4 separate regions of the Homo sapiens genome follow, and all the other regions are linked to region 3. The links are contacts of gene promoters, found by promoter capture Hi-C in blood cells and fetal thymus (Javierre and others, 2016). All regions are on one chromosome and are shown on one strand. Each heading gives the region's core, a stretch centred on a gene start or on the middle of the fragment in contact. The rest is flanking DNA. Distances are from core to core; before and after follow the strand shown. Region 1 has its middle 850 kb from the start of LINC01966. Region 2 has its middle 870 kb from the start of LINC01966. Region 3 holds the start of LINC01412 (long intergenic non-protein coding RNA 1412). Region 4 has its middle 720 kb from the start of LINC01966.

The links. Contacts are between HindIII fragments. The CHiCAGO score rates a contact against its expected background, and 5 or more counts as called.
Region 1: a contact is called between a fragment that was not itself captured here and the fragment with the promoter of LINC01412 in region 3, in 2 of 17 cell types (M1 macrophages and erythroblasts). The highest score is 6.2, in M1 macrophages.
Region 2: a fragment that was not itself captured here is called in contact with the fragment with the promoter of LINC01412 in region 3 in 5 of 17 cell types (M1 macrophages, M0 macrophages, megakaryocytes and 2 more); the score reaches 14.4 in M1 macrophages.
Region 4: a fragment that was not itself captured here is called in contact with the fragment with the promoter of LINC01412 in region 3 in 3 of 17 cell types (M1 macrophages, M0 macrophages and M2 macrophages); the score reaches 12.2 in M1 macrophages.

What each region holds. Positions count from the first base shown.
Region 1 is chr2:145,734,467-145,737,422 of GRCh38, reverse strand. No RefSeq gene overlaps it. Among named protein-coding and RNA genes, the nearest start is that of LINC01966, 850 kb to the right of the region's middle. The HindIII fragment of the contact is 215 bases long and covers 1,338-1,552 here.
Region 2 is chr2:145,750,973-145,753,903 of GRCh38, reverse strand. No RefSeq gene overlaps it. Among named protein-coding and RNA genes, the nearest start is that of LINC01966, 870 kb to the right of the region's middle. RefSeq lists an enhancer at 1,820-1,869. The HindIII fragment of the contact is 6,682 bases long and covers 1-2,931 here.
Region 3 is chr2:144,520,534-144,523,589 of GRCh38, reverse strand. LINC01412 (long intergenic non-protein coding RNA 1412) reads right to left here and starts at 1,722. Exons shown (of 3, transcript NR_110570.1): 1 at 1,664-1,722. ZEB2-AS1 (ZEB2 antisense RNA 1) reads right to left here. Exons shown (of 4, transcript NR_040248.2): 4 at 2,691-2,836. LINC02993 (long intergenic non-protein coding RNA 2993) reads left to right here. Exons shown (of 2, transcript NR_136320.1): 2 at 1-46. The HindIII fragment of the contact is 4,746 bases long and covers 1-1,881 here.
Region 4 is chr2:145,595,486-145,598,523 of GRCh38, reverse strand. No RefSeq gene overlaps it. Among named protein-coding and RNA genes, the nearest start is that of LINC01966, 720 kb to the right of the region's middle. The HindIII fragment of the contact is 1,282 bases long and covers 734-2,015 here.

The DNA.
Region 1 (2,956 bases), core at 196-2,695, 1.2 Mb before region 3:
AGTATACATTTGACACTTTAATATATCCTGTTATATTAATATTATATTAATATAGAAAATTTTAACATCAAAGTCTACAATTAAGAGAGCCTTTCAGCTGGAGCAGAATAAATAAATCCAAACTATGTGTTATCATTACATTCTTATCCATTCAATGTGTCTTGCCCCAGGATTATTTGGTTCCTCCAGTACAGACTATTCTACATACCAAGTGGCTTGCATTGAGATACAATGGCCATGTTCTCTTTCCAAAGCCATCAAAGAATAGCAACTCTCATGATGAATACTTAAACAATGCAGCACCTATGACCCTTGTGGCAATGGCAGATATAGAAAAAATACAGGAATAAATTCTCAGATTACCTTGAGAATCTGACAACTGACATTTGCAACAATGTTAATAATTCAGTTTTCAGATCCACACTGTCATGAGAGCCTCCAATGATGCTGCCACTTGCATGATTCATATGCTCTCTTCCCCAATACTACATGGAAACATGGAGCTTCACATTGCTGGGAAATCAGGATCCGTTTATCTCTACCAATCTCTTGTGACTGACAATTATCCATAAGAAAATTGGGTAGCAGTAACTCATTTGCAAGTTCTTCCACTTTGTGTCTTAAATTAGAAAAAAATGGGAGGCATATGTTTTGTTGCTTTGTTTCAGGAAATAGGATACAGAAAGTAGTAGAAATTAACACGATCAACTCTAAGAGGTCTAAAGCTTTAATAATATTATATTTGTACAAACTATTACTTAGTATTGACGAAATGTCTTGGGCTTTGCTTGACTCCCGATTCTTATTGCTAGTCAGAGGCAACACTAGTTTATTATCAGGACTTATTTTTAGCTTTGTCTCTGAGTTTTTTGTGAGATGAGTTGCGGTGATCTCATCAAACCCTAGTTTAATAATCACATTAAAATTCTTAGATTGTGTAGATGGTGACGTGTTTCATTTATAAAATTAGGATTCGTAAATGATAGTCTTAGTAAATTTATTATTCATATGCTTTATGCTATTTCAGAATAACATGAATACTAAAAAATTAAAAGTAAAACCATTAGCAACATAACCTTCAGCATATTTTTGTGATGTCAATAGAATATGCAAATATGCATTGTTAATAAAAATAACAATAGACACCTTTTAGAAAATAAGTATTAAAACTTCGGCACTTTGTATTTTTCTCTATTTCTTTTACTTTTTGATATTGATTGATTTTACCTTCTCATTAGCCAAACCCAGTCTATTTCTTACAATGAAACTTTAAGATAGGTGCTATTATCCTTATTTTACAGGTGTGAAAGATAACACTCAGAAAAGTGAAGTAAGCTTAAGTTCATAGAGTTAAAAGCCAGTGTAATCAGGATCCATACCTAATGTTATCTCATTCCAAATCCTGTGTGCATTATCCCAAGTCCTGTGCTTCCCACTATAGCATAGACAGTATGTAAGATGTACTGTAAGTGATATATTACATATGCATTGTGAAATGAAAATAATTATCTTACAACTCCAAACTCACTATGCCAAAGAGAATAGTCAAGCTTGGGAAACGAATAAAGTAAAACTGCCTCCCGTTTTGTTCCTAAATAGATAGCTACAAAGATAAAAGGCTACATACTTCCCCAAGGGGCCTCCCTTACAATTTGTTCAAAAAATAATTTCTTGTGGTTCCCAAGATTCCCTGAAACAGTCCTGTTGACTTTTACCCTGACAATATACATTAACAACTTATCTTCACAGGTATGGGACAAGGACAGGACTAGGAGTCATTACTCCATTCAACTGAGACAAATGCATGTTCGACTGCTTCCTCCACTCTATGTTTACTTTATCTTATGTAAAACTACAAATTCACTGAGCATAATTGACTATTCCTCGACCCCCTCCTTTCATTTGTAATATGTGGCTTCAGTGAAGGCTGATCAAAACCTTAAAAGAATGCAACAACTTGCTCCTTTTATCTACCCTCCCCATATTTTTTCTTTCCTCTTTCCCCTACTGCCCCCCTTTTTTCTCTTTAAATATTGAAGTCCTTAAATCCTCTTTGGAAAAAGCAGGAATCACAGATGTTTCTGTGATTTTTTGTTACGTTTTCCTTGGTGCATCTTCAACCTTGGTAAAATGAACCTCTAAAATGATTGAGACTCACCTCAGTAATTTTCTTTGATTTACAATATATAGAAAAGCAAGATTTCACATGTAAAATCTTTCCAGCATTATAACATGGATAGATTGAGGATTAAATGTGACAAGGTGCTTATTAAAATGTAAACCAAAATATTGTCATTCATATATGTATATATATGAATATATATACAATCATAGAATTTGTAATCCTTACAAGTCCATCATATAATATATGCTAGTTTAGTGTATAGGGTAATTAATCATATAAACTACATGCTATATATATGCTTTTATTAACTGCTTATGTGATCTTTACGCCACTGAGACGCCTAGAGGTCAAAGTTACTTATAATTTTATTGGCTTACTTTTCTTTTAATATAAATATGTATGAATAACAGCATTCACAAAAGAGTTATATTTCTATTATAATAAAATATTTCCAAACTACCAAATATTTATTAAGGTTATACCAGATAGCATACTTACTCTACTTTCTTGGTCAACAAATTTATTATGATTTTACCATTTAAGTTATGTTACTTGAAACATAACCAGGCCATTTGTGCTGTGTGCAAAAATTGACCAAAAAGTTAAAGTCACTAAGTATCATTTACATTATTTTGACACTCCATATGATGTTCCTTGTTGGGTGAAGTAGTGAGAAATACTAATATATTTCTATTGCTATAGATCCATTTTCTTCTCCAAGGAGAATATTCATGGTTCAAGCTTACCAAGTTGAGTGAATTCCATTTTCTTAAACAATTGCTCACAATTATACCATATATTTCACCTGGTGTTTGGATAATGATTTTACTT
Region 2 (2,931 bases), core at 9-2,508, 1.2 Mb before region 3:
TTCTTTCTACACTTTGTAAGCACAGGTTTGGGGTCCAGCAAGCGGTATTTTAAAAGGGCCATGATTATCTGGTACTAGAAACAGCAGCAGCAGCTCCTAATTCAGATCTTTTAAATCGGTCTTCTCAGAATACATACATTTGGAGTATTTGAAAACTTGGTCCTCTGAGGCCTGTTCCTTCTTCTCCCTGGATCTTACCTTTAAATGGCTGAAGATATAATGCCTCAGAGACTTAAGGTGAGTGGAGATAGATTTGCTAGGTCCCAGAGTAATCAGAAAGGCAAAATAGCTTTGTAACTCTGTCTCTCTCTGCATTATTCCCTGAAGAGCAGCTGCAGCAGAGTGTGGACCCCGTGTTTGCACATGGCAGAAACTGGGCTGCCTCACATTTAAGGCCTAAGTTAGCCAACTTGTCAATGAATGCCATTAGTGCAGACGGGCCACAGGCACTCAGGGATGGAGTGGCAGGCAAGCTCAGATCAGCTAAGGAAGAGCAGGCATCGGGTGGTAACAACTTTCAGTCATTACTGACCTGGGCTCTATTCAAACCAGTGACCTAGAAATGAAGGGCTCCAAATCCCATTACTAATTCCCCGAGCCATCAAGTCTCCCCTATGGCCTGGATCTTGTCCTGAAACCCAGGTCTCCTGTTGAAATAGCATTAAGACAGCAGCCACTGCGTTGGCAGGCAAGGTTTTTAAAATAAAGGGAGGGGAGGGAATGTGCACGTAGAGAGTTGGCTTTAATTATTACTTTAAAGTTTTTCAGCTCCTTTCAACCTAAAAACCTGAACCTTCTTTAAAGTCACATGCTTGCCAGCCAGCACAAAAATGGTGTTCAAACAAGCACAGCTTTTTTATTTTGTTTGAATGGTGAAAATACACAAGCCCCCTCCCAAATCAAGGAATAATGAGAGGAAACCAAATGAGAGGAAGTTGTTGGAAAGCAAAGAAAGAGATTAAATGAGTATTGCGAGGACAAGAATATTTACTGCCAAAATAAGAAAAGGAGCTAAATGAAAGCACCCTTAAGCCGCGTTCTTCCTCACTTCTTATCTCTCTGTCACTCTCTGAATCCCTCTCATCAAAGAGGGACAATTATTTTTAAGTAAAAATGTGGGATTTTTGTCAGTGAGGTGAAGCCCATGCAAAGTGAGCTGGATTAAAAACTGCATGTAAAGTTCTGTCTCGTGTTTTAAGCCAAAAGCTCCAACTTTACAAACTGTCCTGTAGATGGGGCTGTACTCTGCAATTCTAAGATCACTGCCTCAACAATGAAGCAATTGTTTCCTGTCTCCACTTAGCAATTCCTCCCTCTCTTTCAGTTCTTTCTGCTTGCATGTTCTATTTATTTTAATGTATACCTTTGTGTAGAGCCTGTCTCTGAGTGGTTAGATACCCCGTTGATATGTGGCCTTCAAGGGGGAAAAGGGAGTGCAGCCTATTCCCATGACATCCTAAGGCTTTGTAGAGCCAAAAAAACCTTCTCAGGAACACCTAATCCTTGGGCTCTGTCCAAGTACCACAATCTCTCTGTACAACTGACATGGGCCACTTGGGACACTTGAGAGTTTTAGGTGTGTCTCTCTGAAGTCAGCCCCGGCCAAGCATGAGGCAAATGTGCCCGACCAAAGAAAATAAATTATGTGGACTCCAATTTTCAGCAGTTATGAAGTATTGAATTACACATGCAAAGAATTCACTTTGGGATTAACCCTTTGGAACCGAAACACAATCTTGTCACAATGCCTGAGAAGGGAGCATGCTCTGAGTGAGGCCTGACTTTCCAAAGACACAGAGGTTGCTGACCAGGAGACAGAGATGCTCAATGCAATAAGAATGGAGATAAATGCAAATGTCTTATGTGGGCATGGAAGAGGGTATATGTCGGGGTTCTGCCCTGTCTCTGGATAGGCTGTTGCTGGCATTGTAAAGTTTAAGGATTCACTGCAAAGGCCACTTCAGCACTTAACGGGAATGCATCTTAGCATAATTCACACAGTCCCTGTGGCTGCTTCTTCATTCAGATTTAGAGAAGTGGTTGAAAGCCACTGGAACTTGACTGAAATCACAACTACAGAACCCCTGAAACGGCATTCATCCTCCATGACTCATTGAGCGATAGAAAAGGACATCCTGTCCTACCCCTTTAAGAATTCCTAGTTCCCCATAACCGTCTGAAGCACTAAGCTGTGAGTACACGACATAGCTGAAATTTAACACATAAACCCTGGAGTAGAAAAACAAAACAAGGCCATTTGTTTTCCCCTATAAAGCTATTTATTTACCAAATGACCATAGAAAGCAAACCTCCAACAATAACAGGAAACAATCAATCTTGAAAAACTTAGGGAAAAATTTTTTTGGAGCAAAGTTAACTTTTTAATAAAGTAGGTGTCTTGGGTATGCAAAGCAGGATGTCAGGAAACAGGCAACCTTGCCCCTCTTCCCCTCAGGTTATTATCAGAAAATGTGTGATCTACAGGAGGGACACTGTTTTGGGACTGATAAGCTGTGTCTACATAAAGATCCCTCACTTATTTCACATGTGCCCTGGAGGAAATAGAACTGTACAACGATATCCCTGGGAGACACTGTGGACCTCATCCACTGCCCTCATATTATCCAATGAAGAAACTGAGTTGCTCAAAGTTGCAACAGATACAGCTAAAAGCAGTAGGACATTTTATGTAACTTATTTCTAAAACAACAAATCTCTAATCAGAGAAATATCTCTATGTCTCAGTTGCTCTTGCCTGTTCAGAGGGATGATAACTATCTTTTCAAGTACTTGCTATTTTGAGTTATATGGAATATTTTGAGACACATGTAGAGATCTGCTAAAATGATTTGAGTGATAATAACTGGGTGTATGTGTGTTAATATGTGAGAAAAAAGAGAAAGAAATGAATGAGAGGGAGAGATAAAGACA
Region 3 (3,056 bases), core at 473-2,972:
TTTTCTCCACATGGTACAAAATAAACAGAATTTGCTTTAAAAAAAATCATTAGCTGTGGCCAAATTCGAATTCCTTCTACAGCCTGTGTGTTCAAGGGCAGAAACATTGTATCTCTTCGGGCATCTGGGCCGCCAAGCTGAGCGGGGGGAGGGGGGAGCGGCTGTGAAAGTTGAGGAAATTGACAGACTGAGAGGTGAATGGGGGGACAGGCACCAGGTCCTGGCTGGAGGGAATTGGAAAACAAAAGTGCATCCTTCTCACCCTGCCTGGGTGGAGGGAATCCTGAGGGAGGTAGTTTGTTTTGCCCATGGAAACCCCAAAGAATTATTTTTCCCCCTTCAATGTTGATTGCAATATTATTTCACATTTCCGTGTATCTGTTGTTTTAATCTCTTTCGTCTGCGCTAATCTCGAAGTGGATTATTAATGGGGAAGACAGAGAAGGAGAGATTCATTTGCAGGACTTATTTTGCTGTGTGAGGAGCCGAAAGCCAGCAGCCCCCAGTCCTCTCTCGACTTTTCTCTGCGTCCTGTGCTCCTGCATCCTCCTGATCCCACGATCCCCATTGTCCCCGAACTGGCCCTCGGACTGAGGGAGTGTTCGGAACAAATTTATATTCCGGCTTCCTCCCGACCCCATCACCTCTGCCACGTTGGGAACTCTCTCGGCCAAATGCCTGGGGAGGGGCGTGCCAGTCAGGAACCAGGGGCAAGGCAACCTAGCCGCAGCGCTCACCCCTCGCGGAGACCCTTCCCGTGCCACCATCCAAATATCTACCTTCATGGGAACCTGGAAGACTGCTTTTTCACCCCAAATCAAATACTGGCTAGTCGGAACTCCCAGTGATAAATGTTGGGGACTGCCTCCTGCCACTTGAGCAATTCCTGAGTCCAGGGTAATCAGATGATTAGGTGTTTTTAATGGAAATACTTAGGGTTTTTTTTTTTTTTTTTAAGTCAGATCCTAAGTAACCTGACATTTAATATACATAATAAAGACAAGTGTTTTGTTAGCTATTCGATTGGATCCTTTGACCTGAGGTTATGCTTGTGTGTGTGTCTGGTCTGTAAGCCTCCAATGGCTACCTGGGTGCCTGAAGAGGAGTCTTGCCTGTAATAACTCTATGCAAAGGGCTCCTTCTTCCTTAGGAGTGGTGGAAGGGTGGCTGTAAAGCAAACGTCTAGAGAAAGCTGGATTCCAATCTTTTAAATTAAAAAAGAGGAAAAAAAGGAAGAGGAAGAAAAATGGACATGAACAGTGGTGCTAAATCTCAGAAGAGGAACTTGATAAGTCACACATATATTTAGTATAGATATATAATAATGAAAGAAATGTAAAATATAAAATTAAGAATGTGCCTGACCCATGTTGAAAATCTTTGATTTTATTTATTAATAATTTTTAAGCTGAAGATCCTGAATGCCTTTCTTCTATAGACACTTTATCTGTGATGGGGTGGGGGGAGAGAGTTAATTTATCCAGCAGCTATTTTCATTATAATAAATACTTAAATTAGGAAAGAGGTGAGTAACCAACTGTGAAAATCTACTTTCTTGCATCCTAGAACAAGATCTAGCTGTGGTCGTGCTAGGTAGCTATTAACCACCCCCACCCCACTCCCCCGCCCCGCAAAAAAAAATACAAAATACAAAGACGTATACCTCTGGGAGTGTGGATGTGGCAACCCATGTGGTGGCTTGTCCCTCCTTTGAGTGCAATTGCCAGTGACTCTTGCATTCAAAGTCTTGCTTTAGGCACACATTCAAAGCACAGTTCAAAGCAGTTTATCTTAATATAGTGTTGGATCAGGGTATTATTTGTTTCAGATTTCATCAGACTGGAAACAGGAGGGTGTAACATATTTAACAATATTAAAGCTTAAAAATTGGTGTGAGGCAGCTCTCTGGTCCTCTTAACACCTCCACCTTTACCTTTCCGAAGAATCCTAAATGCTGTGAGGCTAGAAGTTTATTTGTGCTCTGAGGTTCTCAAGCACTTTCACTCTTTAGGAAAAAAAAAAAAGTCTCACAGTTATTTAAGAAATTGAGCCTGAACCATCCGAGGATAGGAGATTTCTTCCTTTTCCGATAAATGCCTGTGCTCAGCATCCTCAAATTTGGCTGTCTTTATTTACTTCTATATTAGTTCCAATTATGTGCAGTGTAAACCAGCTTTTTGATTAACAAAACAGCAGAGCATTGGTTAAGAACACTTAAACTTCAAAAAAATTCCCCTGGGAAGTGGGCTCTGAATTGGTTAATAATGTGCAGTACTTGCTAAATTGCTGACTTCCAGATGTGGAAAATATCTTTCTTGTTTAGGACCTATGTAACCTGATTGGATTACGACAGAAGCGTCACGTTGGAAGCTTTTGAGTGATTATTTAATTAACCATACAGTAGAAAGCTGTATTCTCCAGGAAATCCCTTCCATATTTGCATAACCAATCCCTTCAGAGCAAAGGTGGAGTCTTTTCTTTTTAATCTTACTTTAATTGTAATATCAAAAAATATATACTCCAAAACTTAGACCCCATGCCGTTTAATATCATGCTCTCCCTTCCCTGCTAAGTTTCTCTATGGCCTTTCTCGTTTCTCCTCCTGCCTCCCTACACACTCTCCCTTACTTTGTAGTGAGGTCTCCCCGAGGTGTAGAGAGATTCAGAGATCGGCCAACCGAGTGTTCTATTTTAATTTACTTAGAGACCCTTTATTAAAATGCCAAACTACTTTTTAATATTGGGATCCAGTCCAGAAATTCATCATGCACACACCCTAATACACATGCCCTAAGATGCAGCTCCCATGCAGCATTTTTTTTTCTGGCTCTGGTACCTAAAAAGAAAAAAATAACAATAAGAGAAAGGGCAGAGAACTTTGTTCCAGAAGCTGTACTGAGATACCTACACAATTTGATGTGCATCTCAAATCTGGTCATTAGAGATATCTGTATAAGAAGAGACTATCTGGATTGAGGACCCGGGATCTTTCCCTTTAACTTTCGCCCCTTGGAGTTCTCCAGTTCTGTGAATGGTGTGCACCGTTTTCCGCCCTG
Region 4 (3,038 bases), core at 125-2,624, 1.1 Mb before region 3:
GCAACCACATTTTCTGGATGAAAAAAAAAAAGCAATGAATTCAGAGGTGATACTGGTACATTTAATTTTTTTTATAATTCGTAAAACAGGTCAAGTGACTGATTTTTTTTTCTTCTTGATAAAAAGAAGAATTAAAAAATATGTACACATGCACATATATACATATTTCTTAATACTGGCAGAGACACATAAGGGAGTGTACCTGGATTTCAGTCCTAAATGATCTGTAATTTATACAATAAATTGCTCTTGTCGTCCTCTAGACTTGCATTTAGAGATTATTACTTCATTGTTAAATATTAACATTTCTCAATTTTTTGCTTCTTCCAGAAAACTGGCACTCTATTAAATACAAGCATTAGAAAGTGCTTTTGTATTCTACTATCCTCTTTGAGTTGAGGGTGATTGCATAATTAAAGCTGGCCTGAAATCAACCATATAAGAGTTGAATGAATACCAAGTCCAACTGGGGAGGATTTACCATATGAATGTTCCTTTCCTAAGACTAAAACACAGGTTAGATTTCCAAGTTTCAGAATGTTGCTCAATGAAAGAAATATGTTGCCCATGAGAAAAAAATAAATCAAATGGTGGTGCAATCTATAATCAAAGGCACCAATGGTCACAAAGCATTCAGAACAAAGGTTTGCTGAGCTAGCAAAGATGTGGAAAAAGTTTAATACATAATCCATTCTAAGTAAAAGGTCTTTATTACTAAAAGAATAGAAAAGCTTGTTGGTGGTGTATTTTCTTTTCGTTGTTGTTTTTGTTGTTATTTTTAAAAACCTCTAAACTAGTTTAAATAGATTAACTCTTTTTATAAAGGGAGACACTGTTTAGAATATGAAATATTTTGAGAAATTGAATAACATCCAGTATGCTATTTTTCACTCTAATTTCACAACCAAAAATACATTTCAAAAGAACTTTTCATTTTCTTTTCTTATTATATTTTTATTTAGGACTATTGCAAATTTTTGCCTCCTGGGTGCCTTGCAAGAAAAAGCAGAGATTCATCTCTGCTTGTTTAGTAGTTGGATTGCTTCTACAGAAAACATTTGATAAGCAGCATCAGTCCTGTAAAAGAATGCAGTGGTAGTATCTGCTTTCCCTAGACTTTAGACAGCAAGATAGAACAGTATCTGTGCATGGCAAGAAAAAAAGACATGCCTTATTTATTATTTTGTTCACAGGTAAAAGGAAATAAATGATATTTACATGAAAGCTGAATCCTTGTTTTCATTCCATGGCAAAATCCTTACTTGTTACTCAGCCTTAACACATTAAAAAAGAAGAAGCAAAACAAAAAGTGTGTCTGTACATGTGGCTTGCATATCAGCATTTGTGTGGGTGGTAAACAGTAAACCTGTGGGATGAGCAGAAGGAAGAAAATGGCCAGCATGCAATTTTAAGGAGGCATCTAAGAAACGTACAGATAAATAACTGATTGTTGTTGACCATGACAAGATAATGCATGCCATTTGCAAAAATTTTATTCTCCAAGTGACAGAAACAATTACGTTCCCCCTGAAGGAAAATAACAATATTTTAATATTATAAAATTTTAATGTTACATCTCATATAAGCCATATTTTGCTTTCTACAGAGGATATCTCAACAATAATAAAATATGTAATGATTTGGTCTGCAAATTGTGTTCCTATTCATGTTTTGCTCTGGCAAATAGGGACTGATATTCCTGAGGGCAAAGGGTGCTTTGCTGAATCTAAAGTGGTGCTTTCTTTGCTGAACCTGAAAGTTTTGCCACTGCGTAAATTTGCCTGGCCTAAGAAGAAAGGATTGAAATGCTCAGAGAATAAAGGGAGTCTGTAGGATTTGAATTCTGATGTTAATCTCCAAACACTTTTTCTTTCGGTTCCTTAAAATTCTCCGCAAAGTATCTTTCACTAGCTAGTTTATGCAGGAGTCTGTGTTCTAGACTGTGCCTGTTTTTAGCCAATCAGATGAATCAACTAGAACTGCTTCTTCTGTAAAATAAAGGGTGACAACAAGCTTTAATATTTCAGCAATGAGAGCAAACCATGGATGTACTTTACTATGGAAGTCTTCTGAAGAATTTAGAACCCTTCCCTAGCAAGTTTTCACCTTGACTGTTGTATGTACCATTATCAGGAGAATCAATTTCCTTGTGGTGCTGGTGTGATGTCGAGAGTAGAGCATGCGGGACATTAGGATGAGTGTATACTGGCCCTGGTGCTTTTTATAAATAGAGACATATCTACAGTAAATAAGAGAATACTTTCCTTCTAGAAGCATAATTACTTGAAGTAGAATGAATATGAGGTACAGGAACAGCAATCAGAATTTTAGAAAACTTGAGATTATGGCATGAAAAATATTTTTAATGTCCACTATGACCAAAATATCAGCAGAAGTGGGAGGGAATGAGAAAATCTTAATTTTGATGGGCTTAGCTCTGTTTATCTAACACATGAAAATCTCAAGTATGTGTTCAGAGGCCCTTTTGCAGACATGTGGCCAGGATCTGTAAATCCTGCTGAGAATGGTTTTGAGGAGCTGGGAGGCCAACATTAAAGCAGCTTCCCATGCTGCGTATTTTTAAAAAATTAGTATTATAAGAAAGGAGCACGGTGGATAGTATAATAGAAAGAACATTGTCTCGAGTCTCAGGAGGCCAAAGTCTAGTCCTGATTCAGTTTGTCAGTGAGTTTGTGGTGCTGGGCAATATAATTACACCTTTTGGAGTTTCAGTATCCTTGAGTAGAAAAAAGAATTTAGGGTGTCTAAGATCCTATTTCAGGAGCCCATATTTTTACACATCTAGGATTCATTCATCAAATGATCTTTATAAACCCCTAAGAACATTAACTTGTTCTCTTGGCATTTGCCTCTTCCACCAAGCCAATTGCCTTAGGGTAGTGAGATAGCAAGGAGGGATGGAGAGACTGGTTGTTCAAGGGTTCTAGGCCAGTGGTTTCCAGATATTGGAGATTTAATGTTCTGTATTCTAGCGGGCACACACTGGATGCTCTCCACATGATGCTGAGTCATTCTAG